Linked DNA regions of Homo sapiens: regions 2 and 3 are each linked to region 1. Evidence: promoter capture Hi-C in 16 types of primary human blood cells and fetal thymus (Javierre and others, 2016). All regions are on one chromosome and are shown on one strand. Each heading gives the region's core, a stretch centred on a gene start or on the middle of the fragment in contact. The rest is flanking DNA. Distances are from core to core; before and after follow the strand shown.

Region 1 (3,204 bases), core at 258-2,757:
TTCCCCCTGCAGCACTGGGACCCCAAAGTCCTAACACTCAGAAAAGATAGAAAGGCAAGGGCTTCTCCCCTGTCCCTCGCTAGGTGGACTGGGGACCCGCTCTGGCCTCAGCATATGCTGAGCTGAGGCGCAGGTCACACAAATGAAGTCTCAGGCAGGCCTGGAAACTCAGTTTGTGCAGGGCCTGGGGCCAGAGACAGGGTGACTGACCATGGCTTCTTCTGTTCCCAAAGGCTGTGGGGAGAGAAAGCCCTTTGTAAGGAGTGAGGGAGGATGGCCAGGGCTCCTTCCCTCTTAGAGGGAAACTTGGTTCATACACAAGCGCTTGGAGGGGATCAAGTCAGGGCCAGTTTGAGGGACACTTAAACGCGTGCCAAGGGGTCAAAGATTCCACAGCCTTGCGGCTCACTCTGCCAGAGTTTGGGTGGGGTCGATGACCATCTTTGCAAGGCCACACCTAATGCTGGGATCCTAAGGCACCTGAGGTTTCACCAGGCCCAGCACCAACGCTGGCTGGCGGCGCAAACCCCTGCCCCACCCCAAGCCCTGGGCCTCCTATGGCCGCATCTTCAGCATCTCTGCCAGGCAGCGCCACACGACTCCAGGGCTGCCGGGTGGGACGCCTATCACGGCGGCCCCTCGGGGGGAGCCACCCCAGAAACCACGGTTTTTAGGTGTTTAAAGACAGGGCGGCAAAAACGCACGAGGGAAAAGCAATCTTTTCAAAAGAGCCTCCGAATCCCTCGGCTGGCCAGGACGGCAGAGCTGGGGGAGGAACGCACGGACGCTGAGCGGGAAAAGGAAACCAGGACGGAGCCGTCTCCTGCCGAAACAGAACTCTCCGCACGAATCGCGGGCTTTCGGGGCTCCCTGACCCGTCCGCCAGGTCGGCCCCGAAACGGCTGTCCCGTTTGCTCCAGGACGCGGCTTTGGCGCAGGGCGCGGCCAGATTGAGACCTGCGGCTATGGCTAGGGTTCTGAGCACCGACCCCCGCGGCCCGGCCCGCGCTCCGCTCCCGCCCGAGACCCGCCCAGCCCCGGCCCGAGGCGCCCGGCCCGAGGCGTCCTGCCCTTCGCCCGCCGCCCGCCGCAGCCACTGCGCTCCCAGCCGAGGCCGGGTGGCCGGCGACCGCACAGCCCGCTGCCCACGGCAAACAGAAAGGCGCTTCTGAACGCGCCCGCTCCGCTGCTCGGCGCCAACTTCGCCCTGGCCCCTGCGGGAGCCGGCGGCCGGCAGAACTCACCTTTGCCTAGCAGCGGCAGCAGCAGCAGCAACAGCAGACGCAGCCCCGCGGCACCGGACGTCGCCTTCGCCATCGCCCGTGCGCGCTGGGGCCACGGCTGGAGGGACTGCGGCTAGGGCCGGCGGGTCTGGATGGCGGGTGCGGCGCTCAGTCTGGCCGCCCCATCCCCGCCCGGGGCGCGGCGGACGCGACGGACACTGGGGGCGCGACGCACGTTCCGGGGCACTCAGCGCTGCTGCGCGCCCTGCTTCGGTCGCGGGACTGAAGCGAGGTAAGCGCCGGCTGCGCCGGAGGAGCGGGTAGGGGCGGGGCGGGGCGGGGGCGGTCCAGGGGTGGGCCAGGCGGGGCCGGAGGCGGGTGGGGTGCGGGAAGGGGCGGGGCTCCAGTGCTTGCTCTGGCTGCGCGGGGTGCGGCCGGGGCGCGGCGCGTGTAGGAGCTCAGTGCGGGACGCGCGGCTTGGGCCGGGTGGGGCTTGGGGAGGAGCGGGGTGCGGGAGCGGGGTGCGGCCGAAAAGGGCCCGGCAGGAGCCGGGTGCGGACCCCGAGGTGCGCGGCGGGGATGGAACCCAGGAGCCCGGGTCCGCGCACCTACGCAGAGCCGCTCTTCCTACCCGGTGCGCGCCCGCTTGCAGTCCCTGCCTTTTGCCCTTTCCGCTGCACAGAGAGGGCAGGGATGCTACGCGGGATGCAGGTCTGGCCGACTGGCTCGGGGTGCGACCCCGCGGACTCAGAGAAGGGCGCCCCGCCTCCAGGCTCTCCGCGGAGCGCTTGCTGCGCCATTTCTCAGAGGCGAGAGGCGCAGTGGGAGCGCGGCCTCTGCTGGGGCCGGAGGCAGGAGGCGGGGAAGAGCTGAGCAGGGGAAGAGAGGCAGAATAGCCTTTTTCAGCATCCTGGGGTAGTAGAGAGGGTAGGGTCCTGGAAGGGCAGTTTGTGATTCCCCCCTCCAGCACTGGTCCAACCCTTGGAAACCGGAAACTGGCTCCGGCGTCCTTTCAGAGACCTGGTGCTGGTGGCCCTTGCATCCCTTACACAGGAGAACTCTCAGGAGATGGGCTGGCAGAGTCGGAGAGCGAGTAGCGAGGAGGAGGAAAGAATCCAATTTTCCCCCAAAGAAATGATGGAAATGATGCGCATAAACACATTTACCCCTAATAGGGAGCAGCAACTGGACCTGAGAAGGGGTTCTGGGTGAGGTTGGATGTGGGCTCAGTGGGGAAGTCCTCTGTTCTCGCCCCATCCCCGGCTGCTTTTTGAGGTCTGGCCTGCACTTAGGCGCAGAGGGATGGAAGAAGGGAAGCCCATGGGCCCTTGAGGAGGAAAAGCCAGGGAACCTGGGCCCAGGGCACCCTTGAGCCAGCCGCTCCCTTGCTTGCTGTGTGCAGAACCCCGCCCTCTTGCCTGGCTGAGCTCAGGGCTGAATAAGTGATCTGCACATCACTGCAGATATGAAGTCAAAGTGAAGTCACCCTCACAGGCAGGAGGGGGAGCTGCCAAGACAGAGGCTGGCTTGCACTCAGCCAACCGTGATGTCCAGACCTGGCTTGCTGAGGGGCAGGTGGCCGGGGCACAGGCCTGCCAGCCCAGGAGAGACACTGTGGGCCACTGGACTCCGGCTGCCTGCCACACCCTTCCAGTTTATGGAGCTAGAGTTGGCCACAAGGGGCTCCCTTGGGTTCAGACAGGTTCCATCTCTGGTGCCAGTGGCTACCTAGGCTACACACTCAGGCCTGTGCCCAGGGAAGGGACCTGATAGGTAGGGAGGGGCTGGGGGCATCTTTTGGCTACAGACAAGCTCCTGTGATTGCCTCCTAGGTGAATGAAGAGAGAAGTGGGTAGGCTTAAATAGCCCCACCCCTGCACCTCCCGGGGACCACCCTGGCCAGCCCTTGGCTGACATTGATGTCTGGCTGGGCTCTGTGTGGCCATCTTAAGGGGCCATCTGGGGCTGTGCTCCTGCCTAG
Region 2 (3,204 bases), core at 282-2,781, 190 kb after region 1:
GTCCTTGGCTTTGAGTTTCTCAAAAGCAGAGGCACCTGCAGGGAGGAAGAGGTGACCAGAAGGACCCTGAGGCCCTGCCACAAGGCCCAGCAGGTCCAGCCTCCTACATACAGGGCCAGGCAGCACATCTGGCACCAAGGAAAGAGGTGCCCAGAGCCACAGCCACACTGCCCACTGTGTACAGCTGCAGGCATGAGCTCAACATCCCAGCATCTGTCCCAGTAGACCTCCCATGGTGACATCAACCCTGAGTCCCAAATATCACCATCCTCTTTCAGTGGGAGAAAGGAAATTCCAGCTGGGTAACTTCAACCTGAGGACTTTGTGCCTCTTCCCTCTGAACTGCAGCTGTCCTGACTGTAGGAGGTGACTACCTCCACCTTCCCAAAGTCCTGGGCTGAGACAGGAAGCTTCCTAGAAAGCTAGAGAGGCATGGATGTGTCCCTGATGGGCAGCCCAAGTGCCCTCTGCCCTCTGCAGGGTCCAGGGTAAGAACTGGTGTAAAGTTGGTCCTCAGCAAGGGAGAGTGCTGCACGCTTCCTGGAGGAGGCAGCTGGGAACTGAATCTTTTTTAATTTTATTTTTTATTGACAAATAATAATTGTATACATTTATGGGATACAAGGTGATGCTTTGATATGTTTACAATGTAGAATGATTGAATCAGGCTAATCAACAATCCATTTCCTCACATGCTTCTGAAGGAAAAATCAAACATTGGTGGTCAGTGGGGATGGGTGAACTGGGCACAGGGACTGCTAGTGGGACATGAAGTCATGAGATGCTGGGTCCTTTGAGGGTGGAGACATCTAGCATGGAGCTGGGGACCGAGAGTGTCTCACCAACAAGCCTGGCCTTGATTGGACACATTAGGGTGCTCTGAAGACCTCTGCATGAAGGAGCAGAGGGAGAGACCAGGACAGCTCAGCCCCTGGACAAGCAGAGCAGGCAGAGGAGGCCATGGGCATTAGCCTTGGGCCTCCAGATGCCATGCTTTCAGGCCCAGTGCTCAGACACACCGCTGGTTTCAAGGGAGGAGGGGCAGGCCAGGTGTGGGGTGACCCTGCTCACCTCACTCCCAGCACCTGAGGGCCGTGCTCCTGCACCACCCTCCGCAGAGTCCCCAGGGCACCAGGCTCTGGGGCCTCCATCAGGATTCAGAAGCTGGATGAGCTTGTCAGTCTCAACCCTGCTGTGCTTGGGTATAACCACCACCACCAGCCACCCTGGTCCCCACCCAGCCCTAACCCATCCCTCTCCCTGCCCCCTGGGGACTCAGAGAAACAGGTGCCCCATGACCCCTCCACTCAACTTGCACGGACATCTCACCTTAAACAAAACCTGGCTTTCACTGATATCCACTTCCCCTGAGCAGCCCGCTCCCTTTCCCCAAGGCTTTTGTTCCCTTAAATCCCAGCTCTCCCCTGTAAGCAGACGGAACCCACAGTCTTGCAGGCTCATTAGGTCTGAGTGGTCTCTCCACACCACTGCCATGGCCCATAGTAATCCAGGACTCTGGCGTGGATTCACTTGGCTCTACCTCCAGTCTTGCCAAATTCTGGGGGGCCTGATGTCTATCTTGATGGTTCATCCACACAGCACAGCCCATCCTCAAATGCTGAATCCAGCATCCCTGACCCACTCCCCACACTCCCAACAGGACTCCATCCTTGACCCACGGCCCCAGGCCCCTTCCCCAGGCCACTGCTCTTAGCCTCCCTGAGCTCTCCTTCTCCAGCCCGGCTCTGCCTTCGGCCTCTTCCCTGAGCCTGTTCTGTGCCTCTTTTCCTAACATCTGCTGTTGAACGCAGAGCTCATTAATTTGCCTTCTATCTTGTTCTCTAACACAGCACTTAAGGTTATAAATTTCCCTCTAGTGCCATTTTACCTGCATCCCATGAGAGTCAATATATGCTGCTTCTATCATTGCTTGGTTTATATCTTTTGTATTTTCCATTACCGTTTTTCCTCGGGCCCGTGAGTTATTGTGTTTTCCAGATGTAACTGGGCTCAAGGCAGTCTTCCTGTGATTGACTTCTAACATTATTGCATTGTGATTAGAGAGCATGTCCTGCTTATCATCTCTGCTATTTGTTGAAGCCTCCTTTGTGGCCACCTTCATGGTCAGTATTATAAATGTTCCATCTGTGCTGGAAAAAATGTTAATGCCCGGCGCATGGGGTACAGGATTCTGTATCTGCCCAGCAGCCCAAACTTAAAATCTGTATTTCAGATCTATTTATTTTCATGATTTTTATTCTGTTTGATGCAAATTTTAGAGTGAGGTATGTTCAAAGTTCCCACCATGCCTGGGGACATGCTAGGTTTGCTGTTGTCTCACTGAGGCTGGTGGCTGCATCTTCCAGGTGCATGACCTCCTTCCAAGTTACCTGGTACTGCCCTCCACCCCACCCCATGCACCTCTCCCTGCCTTACTGGTCGCTTCCCACACCCACTTCCTTTCTGTTAACACTTCATAGCAGATAGCTTGCTTTAAAAACAAAACAAAACAAAACAAAAATGTAAAAAAACACAGCCTGAGAATCCATGTTTCGAATAGATGAGTTTAATCTTATTGAATCCATCCCTATACGTTTTATAAAATTAATTAGGAAAGAAGGGAGGGAGAGAAAGGAAAATAAACCAAGCTTGCAGTGTCCTGAGTGTTGGCTTCTAGGCCAGCTTGCTCTCTGACCCTTCCTCACTACCATTCCATGCATACTGCCTCAGAATCACCTTGTAATCCGTTACAAGGCCCCAGTTCCCCTAAGTTCAGATAGATAACAACTATCCTCTATAGATAGCAACTTGAACATTGTGAAGTGTTAAGTTGTCCACTTGAGATATCCTTCTAGGTCCTGCATACCAATCAAACAGCTGATTCCATCTGGTCTGAGGGACCCCACAAGCAGCTGACTCACCAGAACATACAGTGTCCACACCCCGATGATTGCATCCTCTTTAGCCCCACCAATCAGTGGCCCCAATTTTCCACCCCTTGACCTCCACGATCCTTTAAAAACTCCAGCCCAAAACTCCTCAGAGAGATGAAGTGAGGGTCCCTCCTGCCTCCTCACTCAGCTGCCCTGAGATCAGGAAACTCTTTCTCTGCTGCAAAGCCTGCTGTCTTGGTGCATTGGTCTGTAACTGCGCAGCAGGTGTAGGAACCTGGTGGTCCTGTAACATCATTACATTTTACTGTCT
Region 3 (3,204 bases), core at 200-2,699, 150 kb after region 1:
GTCTGGCAGGAGCAGAGCCCCTTTGAAAGCAGCAGTGATTCTGAAAGTGCCACTCTTCAAGCCAAGAGCCCCCCATACCAGAGTCAAATGCACCCAAGAAGGAGCGGGACTTAAAGTGAACTCAGTGAGGGCGTCCCAGACAGGAAAGAGCCAGGAAAGCTTCCATGACAATGAAGCCCACTGTGTGTTTTTCAGAGTGTGTCCATCTTTCTTTTTTCTTTATTATGTCAGTAACATACAGTTGCCACAAATAAATAAGCAAAAAGGGGAAATAATAGACTCCTAGTAGCCCCACACACAGATGTGATGTTTGTGTGGGTGCCGCAACCCAGCGTTGGGACCTCTCTGCATGGGAATCACCTGAGGTTGTGCTGGGCTGCAGTTCTGTGATTCTGACAAGCTCCCAATGATGCAGAAACAGCTGGTCCGGGGACCACACTTTGAGTAGCAAGACCCTCACAGATGTTTAAAAATGTGTAGCATATACATTTTTGTTCTAAAATGTTTCCATTAAGTACATACTATTTTATAACATGACTCAATTCAGTAACTTATTACGACTTTTTTCCCACACCCGAAATATACTTCAATAACATAATTTTTAGTGGCTACTCAGAATTCCATTGTATCTAAGTTCCAGAACTTAGTTAACCAATCTCCTGTTATTGGACACAGGTTGTTTTCAACTTTATTATAAATAGCCCTTGCAAAGATCAACCTTCCACTAAATCTTACACACATCCTTAATTATTTCTTTAGAATTTCAGTAAGTAAAATTAAAGGCATTGCATAATTTTAGAACTTTCCATATGGATTACTAAACTGTCCTCTGAAAAGGTTTACCAACTAACACAGCCACTTGCAGTGTCCTGGTCACTCTCGTGTTAAACATTCCTGCAGGTAAGTAAAATGGAGTGACATTGCTCCATCAGAGAAGTCATACTTTCCCTGATGAAAAGCCTTGCTTCTCGCTCACTTATGACACATATATTCACCACCTGCTGTGCCGTGTGGCATCCTGATAAGCACTCGAGGGGCATGAAGATACCCAAAAGAGTCCAAGAAAAAACAGAGGCCTGATACAAACCATCCAAGCTCCCAAATTTTCTCCGAAGATGCTTAGATCTCTAAAGAGTTGCTCTCTGGGAAGGGCCTTCTGGGAGCCTCTATCTGTTGCCTTTGACTTACCAATGAGGCACCTGAAGGCAAGCAGCATGGTGAGCTGCGCGTCTTGGATCTCTAGGACACCAACCCGGATGTCTACCCTCCCATCCTTTCCCATTTCCCCGACACGTCGTCAATGCCCTTCACAGGCAGCACTCAGCTCCTCTGATGCCCCACACATATATTGGCAAATCCCAGAGTCCCAGGCTGTCCTGGAAAGGAAGAGGCAGCTATCCAGGGGGCCAAGAAAGGAGGTCCTGCGAGGTAAGAGGAGGGCAGCACGGGGCAGGCTACAGGGGCTGAGACATGGTATTGGCTCGAGAGGACCCACAGCTGTGTGTGGTGCTGGTCCCCAGGTCCTGAGGACCTGAAAGGCGCCTGCATGGAATGACCTGAGTCGGACTGCGCTGGCCTCTGGTGCCACCGGCCCTCCTGAGTCCCCGGCGGGCTGCTTGAGCCAAGGGGGGATGCTGACAGCAGCCCTGGAAGATGAACTCTCCAGGGCCTGTGAGGACCAAGGATGTCCAGCTGGTGGAAGCAGTAAGGGAGCTGGTGGCCACAAATCCAGATCAGGGCTGCAGGGGACAGTCACAATGGCAGACCCAGGAGACAGGCTCAGGAGAGCTCAGGAGACCTGTGCCTGACAAGGAGGGGTGGGAGAGTCAGCTGTCATGGGACATTTTCTCTTGGGCATTTATTATAGGGAACAGAAAAGGCAAGTTTTAGGGCAGACATGAAGAGAATAATCCAGGATGCTGAATTTGAAGTGCCTCTGGGACAGGCTGGTGGAGATGTTTGGGAGGAACTTGAACAAATTGGTCTAGAAAAGTAGGTCACTTAACCTCTCTGAATCCCAACATCCTCTTCCGTAAACCAGGGACCAGAGAGAAGACAGGCTGGGAGGCCTTGGTTTCTGAGGGCCTGAGGCAGCAGGAAGGGCAAATGCCCAGATCAGCAGCATGGGGGAGGGCTCAGCAGCAGCTCTGCCAGGGTTTCAGGTGTTCCCTGGGTAGGTGGGAAGGGCTGGGGAGGAGAGGTTGCCAAGGCAGAGATGGGGGAGAAAAGTAGACACAAAGCAAGGAGCTGTCGCTGGAGCTGAAGGAGGAACACTTCCCCAAGAGACACCCATCCTGGCTGCAAATGCAGTTTCCCTCTGACCCACAATTCCATCTCCAGGAATCTGTGCTTCAGAACCATTTACACAAATGCTTGAATATGCTTTAAAAATATTCCGATCTTCTGTAAGAGAGAAAAGTTGGAGACAGCCCCAGTGCTTAAAGCAGTACTTGGCATACAGTAGCACTTCATAAACCATGTGTCTAATGAATGAATGAGCTCAATCTCACTAATAGGGCTATTAATCAATTCCAGGGGGAGCTCTGCTGCCATAAGAAAGTGAAGTAGACTCACATTCAGAGGTGGCCATGGGGTGCTGTCATGTGAAGAAAGACACCACCCTCTGCTTCAGTGAGCAGGAGCTCCTCTCTGAGAACAGCTACGTGTGCCTATGCATACCTATTACACAGGCCTATGTGCAAGAGATTTGCTGAGAAAGTGCTCTCAGGGGAAGCTTAGAAGGGCAGGGGAGAAGCCGGGCAAGGGATCCAGTGGAAGCCTCAGCCTGGTCCCAGGGGAGCTCTGGAATGCGAAAGCTACCACAGAGCGGCCCCACCTCCAAGCAAGGGGGCGGGGATTTTGTGCCTGTATTACTCAGTGGCTGACTAGGGGCTGCTCTACGGGCTGGGTACCACTTCCAGACATTTCTGGATGAGACAGATTGCTTCTGCCCTGGTTGAGTCTCCAGAGTAGGGTGCAGCTGGGAAGGATGCACCAGCCAGATGAAGAAAATCTACACAGCACCAAGAGTCTACTACAGAAGTACAGGGGTATGTGTGAACACGTGTGTGAGGGATGTGTGTGTGTGTGTGTCTTTGCAGATGCACACAAAACAATCTGGAAGCACATATCTCAAGCTGTCCATAAAGAGTGGTCACCTCTGAAATGGACCTTGGTGTTGGAGGCAGGCAGTGAAAGCACAAT

The links. Contacts are between HindIII fragments. The CHiCAGO score rates a contact against its expected background, and 5 or more counts as called.
Region 2: a contact is called between a fragment that was not itself captured here and the fragment with the promoter of RET in region 1, in 4 of 17 cell types (M0 macrophages, M1 macrophages, M2 macrophages and 1 more). The highest score is 11.4, in M0 macrophages.
Region 3: a contact is called between a fragment that was not itself captured here and the fragment with the promoter of RET in region 1, in 2 of 17 cell types (M1 macrophages and M0 macrophages). The highest score is 6.3, in M1 macrophages.

What each region holds. Positions count from the first base shown.
Region 1 is chr10:43,075,372-43,078,575 of GRCh38, reverse strand. It overlaps RET (ret proto-oncogene), which reads right to left and starts at 1,507. Exons shown (of 20, transcript NM_020975.6): 1 at 1,245-1,507. The coding sequence starts at 1,317. RefSeq lists enhancers at 162-1,152, 1,461-2,318, 2,184-2,450 and promoters at 1,285-1,583, 1,285-1,968. The HindIII fragment of the contact is 20,268 bases long and covers 1-3,204 here.
Region 2 is chr10:42,882,671-42,885,874 of GRCh38, reverse strand. No RefSeq gene overlaps it. Among named protein-coding and RNA genes, the nearest start is that of LINC02623, 13 kb to the right of the region's middle. RefSeq lists an enhancer at 1-347. The HindIII fragment of the contact is 2,238 bases long and covers 413-2,650 here.
Region 3 is chr10:42,926,598-42,929,801 of GRCh38, reverse strand. No RefSeq gene overlaps it. Among named protein-coding and RNA genes, the nearest start is that of LINC01264, 53 kb to the left of the region's middle. The HindIII fragment of the contact is 2,575 bases long and covers 162-2,736 here.